Regions from separate parts of the Homo sapiens genome. Here region 2 is linked to region 1. The links are contacts of gene promoters, found by promoter capture Hi-C in blood cells and fetal thymus (Javierre and others, 2016). All regions are on one chromosome and are shown on one strand. Each heading gives the region's core, a stretch centred on a gene start or on the middle of the fragment in contact. The rest is flanking DNA. Distances are from core to core; before and after follow the strand shown.

Region 1 (7,590 bases), core at 2,093-4,592:
TTGACACCCTAAACTCTTACATAAAGACTTCCCAGTGTTTTTTCAAATCTCACTTTTGATGTTACTATGATATGATTTGGCAGTGTCCCCACAAAAATCTCATCTTGAATTGTAACTCCCATAATCCCCACATGTCATGAAAGGTACCTGGTGGGAAGTAATTGAATCGTGGAGGAGGGCTTTTCCCATGCTATTCTTGTGACAGTGATTAAGTCTCATGAAATCTGATGGTTTTATAAAGGGCAGTTTCCCTGCACACACTCTCTTGCCTGCTGCCATGTAAGATGTGCCTTTGCTTCTCCTTCACCTTCCATCATGATTGTGAGGCCTCCCCAGCCATGTGGAACTTTGAGTCCATTAAATTTATTTTTCTTTATAAATTACCCAGTCTTAGGTATTTCTTCAAAGCAGTATGAACGTGGACTAATACATACTATATCCATATATTTATCCCAGATGACCCTTATGTCTTTGCAAAGACCTTATTGAGTTCAAAGTTCAAGGTGCCACAGAACATTCTAAAACAGGTTTCATCTGAGTTGAGGATCTTTTACACTCCATTTCATGGTGTTCAGGTTTTTCAAGACTCTACATTTATGACTTTGAATACTTCTTCTCCCCTTATAACTGAATGATCAAAGTGGAAGTGAGGATGATGATTGAGATAGAAGTATAAACCATTTAATTCAACTTGGATTAAGTTTGAGTTGAGATGTATTCAATTCAAGCAGGCTTTTTCTGGTTTTCAAAGAAAACTTTGTTGTTGTTGCCCTTCTCACTTGAAGAGCTAAAAGGACCCCACAGGCGGTACCACAGAAAAAATTAGGGTCTAGGTCAGAAAGAGGGTTTATCCAACCAGTGCAACATGGTATAGGTAGATTATAAAATCAGTCTTCATTATCAGGAAGGTCTAAGGCTATTGCTGAAATAGTTCCAAGCACCAGTCCAAGGGTGAGACAAGGAAGGAGATAGAACAAGGACCCAGGCAGATAGCTGAGAAAATAAGGCATTCAATAGAAGCAGACATCTGGCACAATTTAAGAAATGTGGTTCAGAAATTTGCCTGTGAATGGTACATAGGTGCTGGAGCTTCCTTTCTCAGATTGCCTGGTGCACACAGCAGGGATTAATGTATCAACTTCATGTATGCCCTGGACTGGAAAACCTCCCAATTTTTATTTCCTTTTTCTTGCACCCATTTCCTCAAAATCTTACTCATTAAAATTGACAGTGTAGACTGGCAGGTCGAGAATGTGATGGCAAAGAGAAAGTTGCAAGTTCCCTTGAATGGTTAATCCTAATCACACATGCATTTATTATTTGCACATTTTTTTTTTTTTTTGGAGGGGGGACAGAGTCTCACTCTATTGCCCAGGCTAGAGTGCAGTGGTGTGATCTCAGCTCACTGCAACCTCAGCCTCCCGGATTCAAGTGATTCTCCTGCCCCAGCCTCCCAGGTAGCTGGGATTACAGGCTCCCACCACCACACCTGGCTAATTTTTGTATTTTTAGTAGATATGGGGTTTCACCACATTGACCAGGCTGGTCTCGAACTCCTGATCTCAAGTGATCTGCCCACCTCAGCCTCCCAAAGTGGTGGGATTACAGGCGTGAGCCACCATGCCCAGCCTATTTGCGCATGTTTCCTACTGCCGGAAGAAGGAACAGTTCTCCCATATACCACATTCCAGGGCATCCTATGATCACATAAGAACACAATCCTCCTGCCACAGGTAAGCGCAATGTACCAGGAAACAGGTTGCGGGTAAACCATTGTTCTCCCTCTGCCATTATGATAGAAATATCATGACAGGCAGCTCTGCCCCCAAATCTTGCAAAATCTCAATGTGCACCTCAAGTTTGTATTGTTTTAGCCTATGATGGAACTGACAGGTTGGGGAAAATGGAAAGCAAAGTTCCATCAGTCTGGATCGCCTTTTGTAGTGTCCCCAGTGAGATCATAGCTGGAGAGGCAAGGATGTAACTCACTCAAAATTTAAGGCTTATGGCCAAAGTTGATGACTAATAATATAGAATTGTAGGTTTGGGCTTTTTGCTTTCTTAAAAAACTCTGTCAGGTTTGGAAAGGGACCTCCAATCTAATTTTGAGATACCACAGGTAATGTCCAATTGTCTTAAGGTGTGACTAAAATTTTTCTTTTGTTTGTTTTTTGTTGTTGTTTGTTTGTTTTGCTGTGTTTTGAGATGGAGTCTTGCTCTGTCACTCAGGCTGGAGTGCAGTGGCACAATCTCGGCTCACTGCAACCTCCACCTCCTGGGTTCAAGTGACTCTCCTGCCTCGCCTCCCAGGTAGCTGGGACTATAGGCATGTGCCACCACGCCAGGCTAATTTTTTTTTTTTGTATTTTTAGTAGAGATGGGGTTTCACCATGCTGGCCAGGCTGGTCTTAACTCCTGACCTCAAGTGATCTGCCCACCTCGGCCTCCCAAAGTGCTGGGATTACAGACATGAGCCACCACGCCCAGCCTAAAATTTTTCAAAATAAACTTGCTGTTACTTTTCTTCTTTAATTTAAAAATACCTCTATAGGCTACATGAGAGTTTTTGAAAAAGTAGCCATGTTTGGCATGGAAATAGGCCCCAAATATGTCAACACCTGTATTTCCTTCCAGATTTCAGTCCTATAACTTTGGACTCCCAACAGATTAAGAATCACTGGTCTAAGGTTTCTAAAGTCAGGGTAGATCCCTTTCCCAAGTGACAGCCACAAATCCAACGCTGTATCATACCCTATCTAAAGAAAAGATAAAAGTAAACTGGCTTGGCACAGTGGCTCATGCCTGTAATCTCAGCACTTTGGGAGGCCAAGGCAGGCGGATCATGCGGTTAGGAGTTGGAGACCAGCCTAACCAACATGGTGAAACCCCGTCTCTACTAAAAATACAAAAATTCGCCGGGTGTGGTGGTGCACGCCTGTAATCCCAGCTACTCAGGAAGACTGAAGCAGGAGAATTGCTTGAACCTGGGAGGCGGAGTTTGCAGTGAGCTGAGATTGTGCCACTGTGCTCCAGCCTGGATGACAGAGCAAGACTCTGTCTCAAAAAAAAAAAAACAAAAAACAAAGATAAAAGTAAACTGAAAACAAGGATAGAAATGTCTGCTAACATGCTCTGTGACCTTGATCAACAGCTTTCCCCGCTCTTGGCCTTGGTGTCCTAACTTAAATGGGGAAACTGTGATCTCTCTCAGCTCAAAATTTACATGACATTATTTACATACCAAACCTGCCCTACGCTTCCTGGAAACTTTACTACTTATGAGTGTGGCTCCTCCTTCCCTTTCAATCCCTTAATTAAATAGCTTCCCCTCTACAGGCTTTTGAAGTGGTAGCAGTTCCTCCTAACTCCTGCCAGAAACAGCTCTCCTCAACATGAGAGCTGCACCCCTCCTCCTGGCCAGGGCAGCAAGCCTTAGCCTTGGCTTCTTGTTTCTGCTTTTTTTCTGGCTAGACCGAAGTGTACTAGCCAAGGAGTTGAAGTTTGTGACTTTGGTAAGTAGACTTTTCTCATTGCTTTTTCCTTAAAACTGTGTTCCCAGCAAAGTCTGATAAGGCAAGCGTCAGGTTTCATCTTATCCTTGGATTGTTTCCCAGAGACCAGGCTCTGTTCAAACTCAGAAAGTGAATAATCAAGTTTTGCAAGTTCCTCTTAATGAAGACCTAACGTGTCCTAACAAAAATATTTTTTGGTCGCTGTTTTTTTAGGGGTTGCTTTTTATTTGCTTTTGCTGATGTTATTTATTTACTTACTTTACAACTGCCTTGAATTCAGATTCCTTTTGACAGCCACACCAGTCCAGAAGAAACCACAGCTGGCGCTGTTTATGTACCAAGAGCTGGCTTCATTCAATTTAATCATTATTTGTTTGCAAGCCAAAAAACAGTCATTTTCTGAATTAAGTAGTCCTTTCACCTTTGTTTATCAGGAAATTAGAACAACTATTTGTAAACAACCTTGAAGCATAAAAGTGAATCTAAATTTGGAATTTTAGGATGATTTTCTGATATATAGATTTAGTTGACGATTAAAATCATTGGCACATGTGACCAGTTATGAAAAAAGGTGGGGGGTGGCTGATGCATAATATCAAGAAAAGAAAATATACTGTTGACATTGTTTGAAAATAGATGGAAAGAGGGTTTGCAAAGTGAAGGGGATTCATCATGTTACCTAAGAGTCTGATTTTCTGTTTCTGTATCTTTTTTTCCTTCTGTTTCACTCTTTCTCTGCCTCTAAGCCTCTAAGCTGCTTCTTGCCTTTCCTCTCTCGTTTTCTTTCTCTTCCCTACATTTTTTTATTTGAGATAGTGAAAGTGGGCTGATAAGTAGGTAAATTTTCTTTCTGTCAAGAATACTCAAAAATTATTTTTATAATTTGAAGGAAAGTCACTGTTTCCTTAAAAATTAAAGTTCAGGCTTTTTTTTTTTTCAGCATGGGATATTCAAAGCTCTTTACTTTCTACAGAAAATATGATACCCATGTGCTTATTTGAATCATTATTCTTATAGTCCAGTAAATCCTTACTAGGTCATGAGTCAACAATGACAGAAAACCCAGTGAAACAAACTATCAATTTATTTACAAATGATTCACCAGCTGTCAGACTTCTGTGCAGAAAAAAAATATATAATACTGTGTGCCTTCTTTAGGGAAACCCATGTGAGCTAGGCTTGTACTTCTATCAGTAGTTTTCTTGCTAACATGTGCATGAGGCAAGTTTAGGGACTGTAGAAATTGTACTGCATCTGCCGTGCTTGTAATACTGTAAACCTGTGACAAGCTGGTTGAGTGGCAGTCCTCTGAGAAATCCAAGTTACTCCAAGCTCACTGTACATGATGTATTCCCTCCTCCATGTTTTACCCAAGTTAGCCCAGGCTAACTTCCTTTGACTACCAAATTGTTGTGGGTTTCCTATATTCAGGGACTGCAAGTTAATTCTTTCCTGAGGAAAGCCAAAATACAAAGCTAGCTCTCTTAGAACTAAAAAAATTAACAAATATTGCACAAAGCCAGTGTTAACTATTTTTTCCTACCATGATTTCCTTCCATTAATGGTAGATGAAGGGCCATTTAATACATCTTTCTTGGCCCTTATAAAACAACGTCCATCTAAGTACTTAAGCCAATAAACATCAGTTTCTTATTTTTATTGACTAAAGAGAATATTTGACTATAAGTGGTTAATTTATACAAATGAGATAACTCTTAGAAAATTATTAGGAGAACCAGAATTGTTTTAAAAGATGCCCATAACTAAAGTGGTAATATTAATGATAATAACCAATAGTCAATTGAGTGCTTACTGCAAGTACTTACTGCAATTGAGTGCTTACAAGGCACTGTTCTGAGTGTTCAATATGAATTGTATCACATAAGCCTGTCAACAATCCTCTAAAATAAGGTCGTTAAATAAAATATGGGATGACCATTTGAATTTGAACTTCAGATAAATAGCAAATAATTTTTTAGTCCCATGCAATATTTGGGCATCCTGTATGTTTATTTGCCAAATCTGGCAACCATTCTATAAAGTTTTGTAAAACTTATTATTCCTATTTTATAGATGAAGAAATTGAGGCACAAAAAGGTTAAGCATCTTGCCCATGGTCACACAGATGGAATGGTGGAGACAGAATTTGAACCCAGGCTCTCTGACCCCGGATGCCTTTCCCTTTATCACTAGACATGGTCTTTTCCTGCTGTGTGTATATAACCCAGCACATGGAGCTAGTCTGAGATCCCCCTGTAAGGTTTGCTGGATTAGCTTGACTCTGAATCAGCAGGTGGTTCCCTTGCTTTTCCTCTGTGATCCGAGAAAAATAAATCCTCCCCAATTCTGAAAAGCTGTTCTCAGCAGAAAGAGGAGGAAACTGTCCTTGGTTCTTGTTCTCGGACTAACTGAAGTGCCTGTGACCCATGAAATGCTAGTTTGACAAGTTGTTAACAGGTGTACATGGGGAAAAAATCAGTTTCAATAGTCAAGTTAGCTTTGGGAATAGAACTGGGTTAAACTGTGTTTAAAAGGTCTCTTTAATGCAGTAATCCTAAGTCTTTAACATGCTAATACGCACTGTGGCTTTCAAGGAAAGGATCTAGTGTTTTCCAAACTCTGTTTTCAAAATTTTGATTACAGCATTCACCTCCCTCTTTTTTTCCCCAATGTCCTGTAGAAAACACTGAGAGAACTGACATTTTTAACTTTATATGGAAAGAATCGTAAATATGGTGAATCTGGATGTCCTCATCAACCAGCTTCAAAGACTATCACCCATGCAATCTTGTTTCATCTGCATAGCCACTCATTTCCCACACACACCCACTTGAGTTTTTTAAGTTATTTCATGCACCATATCATCCAGAAATAGAAAAATGTCATTTTAAAGCATCCTGTCTCCCCTAACCCAGAGAAAACCCACAAGTTCAGCTGATCCAAGACAGAAAAATTCCATCTCATTTCACCGGTGTTAAGAAAGGAATGATGACTTACAAGGTATACACTCTTCTCATTCTTCATGGTTGACTTTCTTCATGCAGAATTCTTAATCAAGTAATATAATATTCTTGGGTTTTTTTTTTTTTTTTGAGACAGAGTCTTACTCTGTCGCCCAGGCTGGAGTGCAATGGCGTGATCTTGGCTCACTGCAACCTCCGTCTCCCAGGTTCAAGTGATTCTCCAGTCTCAGCCTCCCAAGTAGCTGGGATTACAGGCGTGTGCCACCATGCCTGGCTAGTTTTTGTATTTTTAATAGAGACTGGGTTTCACCACGTTGGCCAGGCTGGTCTTGAACTCTTGACCTCAGGTGATCCACCAGCCTTGGCCTCCCAAAGGGCTGAGATTACAGGCGTGAGCCACTGCGCCTGGCATAATATGATATTCTTGATGGAAGCAGCCTCCAAATTCTCAGCACATAATCTATATACTGGAATGGGTAACTTCCACATTATGGACATGAAGGACCTCCTAGCTACTAGGGAAGGTGGAGCTAGAGGATCACTTGAGCACAGCAGTGTGAGGCCACATTGAGCTAGGATCACACCATTGCACTCCAGCCTGGACAACAGGGAAAAACCCTGTCGCTTGGGTTGGCTTATAAAAAGAGGTACCAGAGGCTGGGTGCAGCAACTCACACCTGTAATCCCAGCACTTTGGAAAGCCGAAACAGAAGGATTGCTTGAGGCCAGGAGTGCAAGACTCCAGGCTGGTTAACATAGTAAGACCTCATCTCTGCAAAAAAGAAAAAAAAAAAAGATGGACCAGATAAAATTCCACTGAAAAGCAAAAATCAGGTCTCCTGCCTCAGTTCACAAACAACCTTACATACAATCTCTCTCCCTTGCTGTATGGCTCCTAATCACTGTATCCAAGGAACAGCCAAGCTGTCTGGAGACCACAGGTTTTTCAAAGACATTTGCCGGAAACAGCACCGTGCGCTGAGAGTTGGTACTGAGCCAGGCTCAGTTCAGTTTGCTTACATGAGCTTCTCCCCAGATTTATGCCAATGCATTTCACAAATTTTCAGGGTGCATTTGGCCAAGACATTTCAGCCAACCAGGTTATTCCTGTGGGT
Region 2 (7,590 bases), core at 3,610-6,109, 78 kb before region 1:
ATTTCTCAGCCTCTATAATCATATGAGCCAATTCCTCGTAATAAATCTCTTTCCATATGTATATGTGTGTATGTGTGTGTGCAAGCATATACATATATGTATGTATGTGTGTATGTGTGTGTGTGTATATATATATCTGTGTGTGTGTGCATATATATATATCTGTGTGTGTGTGTGCGTATTTGGTTCTTTTTCTCTAGAGAACCCTGACTAATACACACAGGATACTCTGGGAAGAATAGTCAGGCCTGCACTAGTTTTGAGGATCCTGTCCGTATTTGTTGAGATTGTTTAAACCCCATAAGGCCCAGAACAGCACCTGCCGCAAGATAGGAGCTGAACTGATCTGCTCTTATATTCCTAACCTTCTGCTATCATGAGATCACATATATGAATTTGCTCTCAGTGCTCTCAAAACATAAGTAAAAGTAAAAGTTAATGTTTGTTTTAATTATAAGGTATATAAGCCAAATAATCTGGTCTGATTCCAAAGCGTAGCACTCAACGATTTTCATCAGAGCCACAAAAAAGGAGGGGATTTACAAAACAAAACATCTTGCAGAGATCTCAGAAAAATTGTGGCAATTATTCAAAATATGTTCAACCACAGGTTTCAGAAACTGAAACTTCCTAATATTTCTAGATTCCATAAAACTAATAATGGAAACTAGAATTTAAGTTTTTCAAAGCTTCTGCACAGCAAAGGAGACAATTAAAACATGAAAAGGCAACTTACAGAATGGGATAAAATATTTCCAAACCACGTATCTGACAAGGGGTTAATATCCAAAATATGTAAGAACTCATACAATTTAATAGAAAAAAAAACTAAATAGTCCAATTAAAAAGTGGGCAAAGGACATAAATAGACATTTTCTCAAAAATGACATACAAACAGTCATCAATTACATAAAAAAAGCTCTCAACATCATTAATCATCATAGAAATGCAAATCAAAATGAAATATCACTTCACACCTGTGATATACATATATATATGTATATATATACACATATGTATACACTTGGATTTTATTGGAAATGTGTGTATATATATATATATATAAGTATATATGTGTATGTGTGTATATATATGCATAATATATATACACATACATATATAAGTATATATGTGTATATATACACATATATACACACATACTTATATATACATATATAATATATATACACATACATATATACACACATATATACATATATACACATACACATATATATACACACATATACACAAACACAATGGAATATTATTCAGCTATAAAAAAGAAGGAAATCTTGTCATTTGTGATAACATGGGTGCAACTTGAGGGCATCATGCTAAGTGAAAAAGTTGGACAGAGAAAGAGAAATACTATATGATCTCACTTATGTGAGGAATCTAAAAAACAATCGAACTTGTAGTTGTGGAGTAGGATGGTGGTTGCTGGGTGCTTAGTGGTGGGAGAAATAGGGTGATGTTGGTCAAATGGTTAAAAACTTTCCATTATAACATGAATAAGTTCTTTGGATCTAATGTACAGCATTGTGTCTATAGGTAATAATAAATGCTGTATTGTATACTTGAAATTTGCTTAGAAAGTAAACCTTAAAGGTTCTCACCATTTTTAAAAATGGTAACTATGTAAGGTAATGGAAGTGTTAACTAACTTGATTGTAATAATCATTTCACAATGTATATGTATATAAAATTATAACATTGTATATCTTAAATATATACAATTTTATTTGTCAATTATACCTCAATGAAGCCAGGAAAAAAATTAAAATTCTCAGTAATCAGAAGGATTTTCCCCTTATATCAAGATATTGCTCTCAATTGAATTTTTTTCACTTTTTAATCCAAAGTTTACTCAACTGTAAAATGTGGATGTTACAATTAGAAGATCTACTAAATTATTTCTAATCCTGACAATTAATGACTCACAAATTCAGATGTTACCTTCTCATGGAGGACCGAGTCAGAAAGTACAAGGATGGCCAAATAATGGCAGAACAAAATGATTAAACTGTGTGAGAGTTTTCAAATACAATCCCACATTAAAAAGAAAATATGTTCTTACCATGGCCACAAGATTCACCCTCAACCTTACTACCTTAATTTTTCCCCATATTATTTTGCACAAAATATTTGTTCTTATAAATGCCTTTGTCCTATGAAAATATGATCAACATCCCTAATTATAAGTAAATGCAAATTGAAACCACAATGAGACATCACCTCACACCCGTTAGAATAACCACTATCAAAAGAACAAAATAACAAAGATTGTTAAGGATGTGGAGAAATTGAAACTCCTGTGTACTGTTGGTGAGAATGTGCAGTTATTATGGAAGATAACATGGAGGTTTCTCAAAAAATTAAAAATAAAATTACCATATGATCCAACAATTCCACTTGTAGGTATCATCCAAAGGAATTCAAAGCAGGATCTTTAGAGGTAGTTGCATATCTATGTTCATCGCAGCATTATTCACAGAGCCAAGAGGTGGAAGCCACCCAAATGTTCATCAACAGATTAATGAGTAAAGAAAATGTGGAGTATATTCACAATGGAATATTACTCAGCCTTTAAAAATAAGGAAATTCTATCCCATGCCTCATCATGGGTGAACTTCAAGTTATGCCAAGTGAAATAAGCCAGTTGCAGAAGGATAAATATTGTAGGAGTCTAACCATATGAAGTATCTTAAGCGTCAAAACCATAGAAACAGAAAGTAGAAATGTGGTTGCCAAGGGCTAGGGGGTTGGAGAGGCAAAAATTAATGTTTAGTTGGTATAGAGTTTCAGTTTTGCAAGACAAAAAGTTCTAGAACTGTGTTGCACAATGATGTGAATGTACTTAATGCTATTGAACTATATACTTAAAAATGGCTAATATGGTAAATTTAATGCTATATAATGTTTTACCACAATAAAGAAAAACCTATGGTCTAATATTAGAAAGAAATTGTGTAATGAAGTAAACCATCTCAAGAAAGCAGCTGCATGCCTATTGTGGAAATGACAAGCACAGGCACATGTTATCTCACTTGAGGGTAAGATACTCTGCAACCTCTAACTTAGTGAACAGATTGCGCCTGATTCACAGACCGAGACAAATTCTTCCTTTAACTCAATAGCAAACTCAAATGCCTCCCTCTGCCTGCAACAGGGCATACCACCACCTGGCATTCTTTGTTTCCCAGATAGTCATGGTGTCCTTTAGCCCTTTTCATTATTCACTTAACATCAAAACAAAATGCAGCTAATAATATTAGTCTATTTTTCTGGTCTTGGAGAAGTAGCATCTGAATTTAGGCCCTGTGCCCAGATTTCCCACTCTGTTGGCACTGTAGTCTAGGGAAGTCTTTCAAGTTTTTGTTAAGCCTTCAGCCAGGTGAGAGGTACATGTTAGTTTTATTTTATTTTTTTTAAAGGGAAAAAAAAAACAGAACGTCCCAGTCAAAGGGCACCAAACTAAATTGTCATGGGAAAATTGGCCAAATGATATATTTAGTCAATGCTTTGCAGTTTACCTCTCATAAGCCTTCAGGGGCTTTTATATATGCTTTATATATATGCTTTATATACACTCTATTATAGCCTGGAGGTCATACAATGTGCTATGTTTTACTCTAAAATTCACTCTCAAACTCATTCTCTCTCTCTTCTCTCTTCCACTTCCTCTTTCTTTCTCTCTCTCAACTTGATCCAGATTTTCCCAGGGTTCAAGTTATTTTCTAAATGAAACAAAAGCCCTTTTACAAGGTACATTCAAGCTGCTCAGATTACTTTGTTCTAGTCCAGCAGTTACAATTTCAGGTAGAGATGTGCCTTGTTTTATGAGAAAGATTTGTTCCTTAAAAGTTACTGTGTGACCACCATATCAGTGAGATCAGTGTGTCCCTCCATGAATGCTTCTGCTAATTTGTTTCATGAAATGTCTTTTTTTCTCATGTACTCTCCCTCTCTAAGCTTTCCTAAGAATTAAAAAAATAGCAAGCTTACCAACCCTTTGGCTAGTGCACTGAATATAAGATTATTGGGAGAATAAGGAGAGTAATTTAATTCATGGATGTGGTGGCTTATATGAAATCAACTTAGCTAAGCTGGAAATACATCTCCCGAAATTCCCTTCTCTGCATGGTTGTCTATCAGAGTTGCCCACAAGAAAATGTGCACATGTGAAGGTGGAAGTGAAGCAGCAGCATGTTTAAAATGAGATGGAGGTGTAGAAGCAGGTGCTGTTGCATTCTGCCCATAGTCACTGATCTTGTGGCTCACTTTGTCCATCAGGGCAGCTGCAAGCACGTAGTTCCTCCACCTCCTACTGGATCTTCTCTTTAGCTTCTCTGAATCCTGGGCCAAGTTTGTGAACAGCTTTGGGGTGAAATGAGTCAGCCATTCTGCAAATCCCAACATTGTTGGAGTTGGAGGGTTTGGAGGCATTGAGAGACTGATGTGGGTTCCAATTTATCCTTTCTCTCCCCCACTTCATATTGATCTTCCTTTCCAGACTGCTGGCCTTGCTGACTTCAGGCCCAGCACTAGACACAGGAGCAACAGACTTACCTATACACTCACCAAGGTCCCACAATTGCGTGAGATCTCATCCCTATAATAAATATTTTATATCACTTATATGGTTCTGCTTCTCTGATTGAATTCTAACTCCTTGGAAGTCAGAAAATGACATGCAAGACTGAAATTCTTTGATTTGACCAAATCCTACTTGTAATGGCTTTCACTTCACTGTATGGCTGAAGAGGAGAGTAGTGGCATCCAGACTTGACTTCTCACCTTCTCTGGAGCCTCACTGTGAGCAGAGACCAGGAGGACAACTTCTGGCCTCCCTCAGGGGTCTCTCTTCACAGTCTTACCCTTAACCCTGTCTCTACTCTGCTGTCTCCCTGTATTTACCACTGTCCAGCCATGAGCCTGCTGGTTCATGTGTGTTTAGAGCCACTTCATATCTAAAATCAGATCTGTGTATATCAAATCATATTTTTTTATTGCAAACATATAGTTTTTCCTTTCTCATTAAATTATTAATTAACAGTGGACTCTGAAAACTTCAGCTCTAAGAATTGCTCCTTTATGGGCTGGGCACGGTGGCTCACACCTATAATACCAGCACTTTGGGAGGCCGAAGTGGGCGGATCACCTGAGGTCGGGAGTTCAAGACCAGCCTGGCCAACATGGAGAAACACAATCTCTAGTAAAAATACAAAATTAGCCAGGTGTGGTGGTGCATGCCTGTAGTCCCAGCTACTTGGGAGGCTGAGGCAAGAGAATTGCTTGAACCCAGGAGGCGGAGGTTGCGGTGAGCCGAGATTGCACCATTGCACTCCAGCCCGGGCAACAAGAGTGAAACTCTGTCTCAAAAAAAAAAAAAAAAAGAATTGCTCCTTTATGGTGCAGAGGAAAGAACACTGGGCTATGAAGTCAACTTCAACTCTGATCAATCAGTATGACCTTTGGGCAAGCCCCTGAATCTCTCTGGATCCTCCAGCCTTCAGCTGCAGAGAGAAGAAGCTGGAGTTGATGATCTCTAAAGACTCCTCCAACTTCAAACATTCCATTCTAAATAAATGAGATGCTTTATCTTTAAAGAAGTTGGAAGTAAATATTTCCAGAAGCAAATACTTAGACTCTTATGCATATTCAAAGACATACCAAACATAGACACAGCTGTATGAAAGTATGTTCTGGAATGAAGCTTAGAGCACATTTAATATTCAGTCATTGTTACTAAATTAACCCTAAGTCTTAGCACACTTATTTATATAGTTTCTGATCCTTTATTTTTGTTTTGATAATCTTTTTAGATGTATACTGCCTCAATCCCACTTGGAAGTAAGCGAAATATATACCATAAGGAAATAATTAAAATATTCTAGCAGCTCTGCAGGAAAACTACCTCAATTTAAAACTCCTTCATGATATCACCTAGGAATAGCAAATTAATGTATTATATTAATGTTGCTGAAAGCAATTCAGCTCTCAAAGGGCCCGGATTTACTTCTAGGAAGTGAATTTGGCTCCAGAAAAAAAAAAACTAAGCATATTTTTTGTCAATTTGACCAAGCTCCCATGGACTGAAATAGTTTTAATCTTTTCCTTATAGGAAAACTCCCTTATTTATCTGGGTCCTCTACCCTACCTGAGCTAAAGAATACCTAAGCCCAGTCCCTCATTTTGTGTAAGGGGCCTGAGACATTAATGTCTGTCTACTCCCTACTATAAGAACCAGGTCCGTATGTTTCATTATCACCAGTCTCTATGCCCAGGGACTGCCAGATCCCTGCTCCAGAACCAAATCCAGGATCCAGAGCTCTGCTTCCTATGAACAAGTGAGCCAGGTACTAGCTTCCTCTCTTCTCAAATCTCCTAGCATTACCTATGGGTCCATTTCTCAAGGACAAGGAAGAGTAACTCAGAGCCTAGAGGGCAGAGATAAGAACCATGGGAGATCATTCTCAGATAATAAGTATAAGAGCAAAGTAAGCCCTAATAAAGGAATTAGCCACATGTGCCTTGGAGATTTCAGAATTGCTGTGAACCAGTGGCTGCTGTGTGCCTCCTACTTTCTCACTTTCTGAATGGGAGTATCTACTGCAGTTATCCTATTCCTGTTCCACCACTGTAGGACAGATCATCAGTCTCTTTAATTTACAGGTTTTCAGATTGAGAAGGATGGTACTCAGGAAGATGGACTTGAGGAACCACACTGCAGGAGCCTCAATTGCATGTGGACCTCGAGTCTGAGCCTGATTTAATAATGGAATGAGATTGTTCTAGAATCTTTGGTGGAGTGAATATATGTTGCATTTGGGAGGAAAGTAAACAATTGTGGTCATAGGACAGATTGTGTTTTAACATATGGCCCCAAATTTCTTTAATGTTTTTCTCATTGAAAAGTAATGTCCATGTTTCCTCCATTTGATTCTGGCCAGCGGCTTAGGACTTCTACACCAACAGGCTATGGCAAAAGTAATGCTGTGTGACTTCTGAGGCTAGGTCTGAAAAGGACGTGCAGCTTCTACCTCCTTCTCCTGGGATCCTAGCTCTTGGATCCCAGCCACCATGCTATGAGGAAGTCCAAGCTGCCACATGGAAAATCTGAACACCTGAGGCTGATGTCCCACTATCACCAGTCTCTATGTAGGTATTCAGACCAACAGCCCCAACTAAGGTCCAACAAGATGTGTGAGTGAACAAGTCTTTAGATCTTTCCAGCCCTAGCTGGAACTATCTGCCTGTATTTACCATCATTGCTGTACCTGTTGGGGGATTCTCCCATCTCATGCCTCAACCAGGATGAGAGATTGCAGTGCCCTTGGGTCCTGTTCCTTTTCTGTCTTGCTGACTATGCCTCACCACCATCAAACACACTAGGCTACACCCAAACCCTGTCCTTCCTCTCACCTGCTTTGATTTGCTATGATAAACTGCACTGCCTTATAGCTGAATCTCAAAATAGTACAAACACAGTGGTGCACAACATGACTATAATTAGGCAGTAAATAAGGAGAATGAAGTCATAGTCTAATACTTGACACTTGGCAATATAATCTGTTGAGATGAGCC

Evidence for each region. The method cuts DNA at HindIII sites, captures the fragments that hold promoters and counts their contacts. A CHiCAGO score of 5 or more calls a contact.
Region 2: a contact is called between a fragment that was not itself captured here and the fragment with the promoter of ACP3 in region 1, in 1 of 17 cell types (neutrophils). The highest score is 6.0, in neutrophils.

The regions. Positions count from the first base shown.
Region 1 is chr3:132,314,065-132,321,654 of GRCh38, forward strand. It overlaps ACP3 (acid phosphatase 3), which reads left to right and starts at 3,343. Exons shown (of 10, transcript NM_001099.5): 1 at 3,343-3,512. The coding sequence starts at 3,393. The HindIII fragment of the contact is 19,921 bases long and covers 1-7,590 here.
Region 2 is chr3:132,234,140-132,241,729 of GRCh38, forward strand. No RefSeq gene overlaps it. Among named protein-coding and RNA genes, the nearest start is that of TRC-GCA9-1, 6.1 kb to the left of the region's middle. The HindIII fragment of the contact is 1,716 bases long and covers 4,002-5,717 here.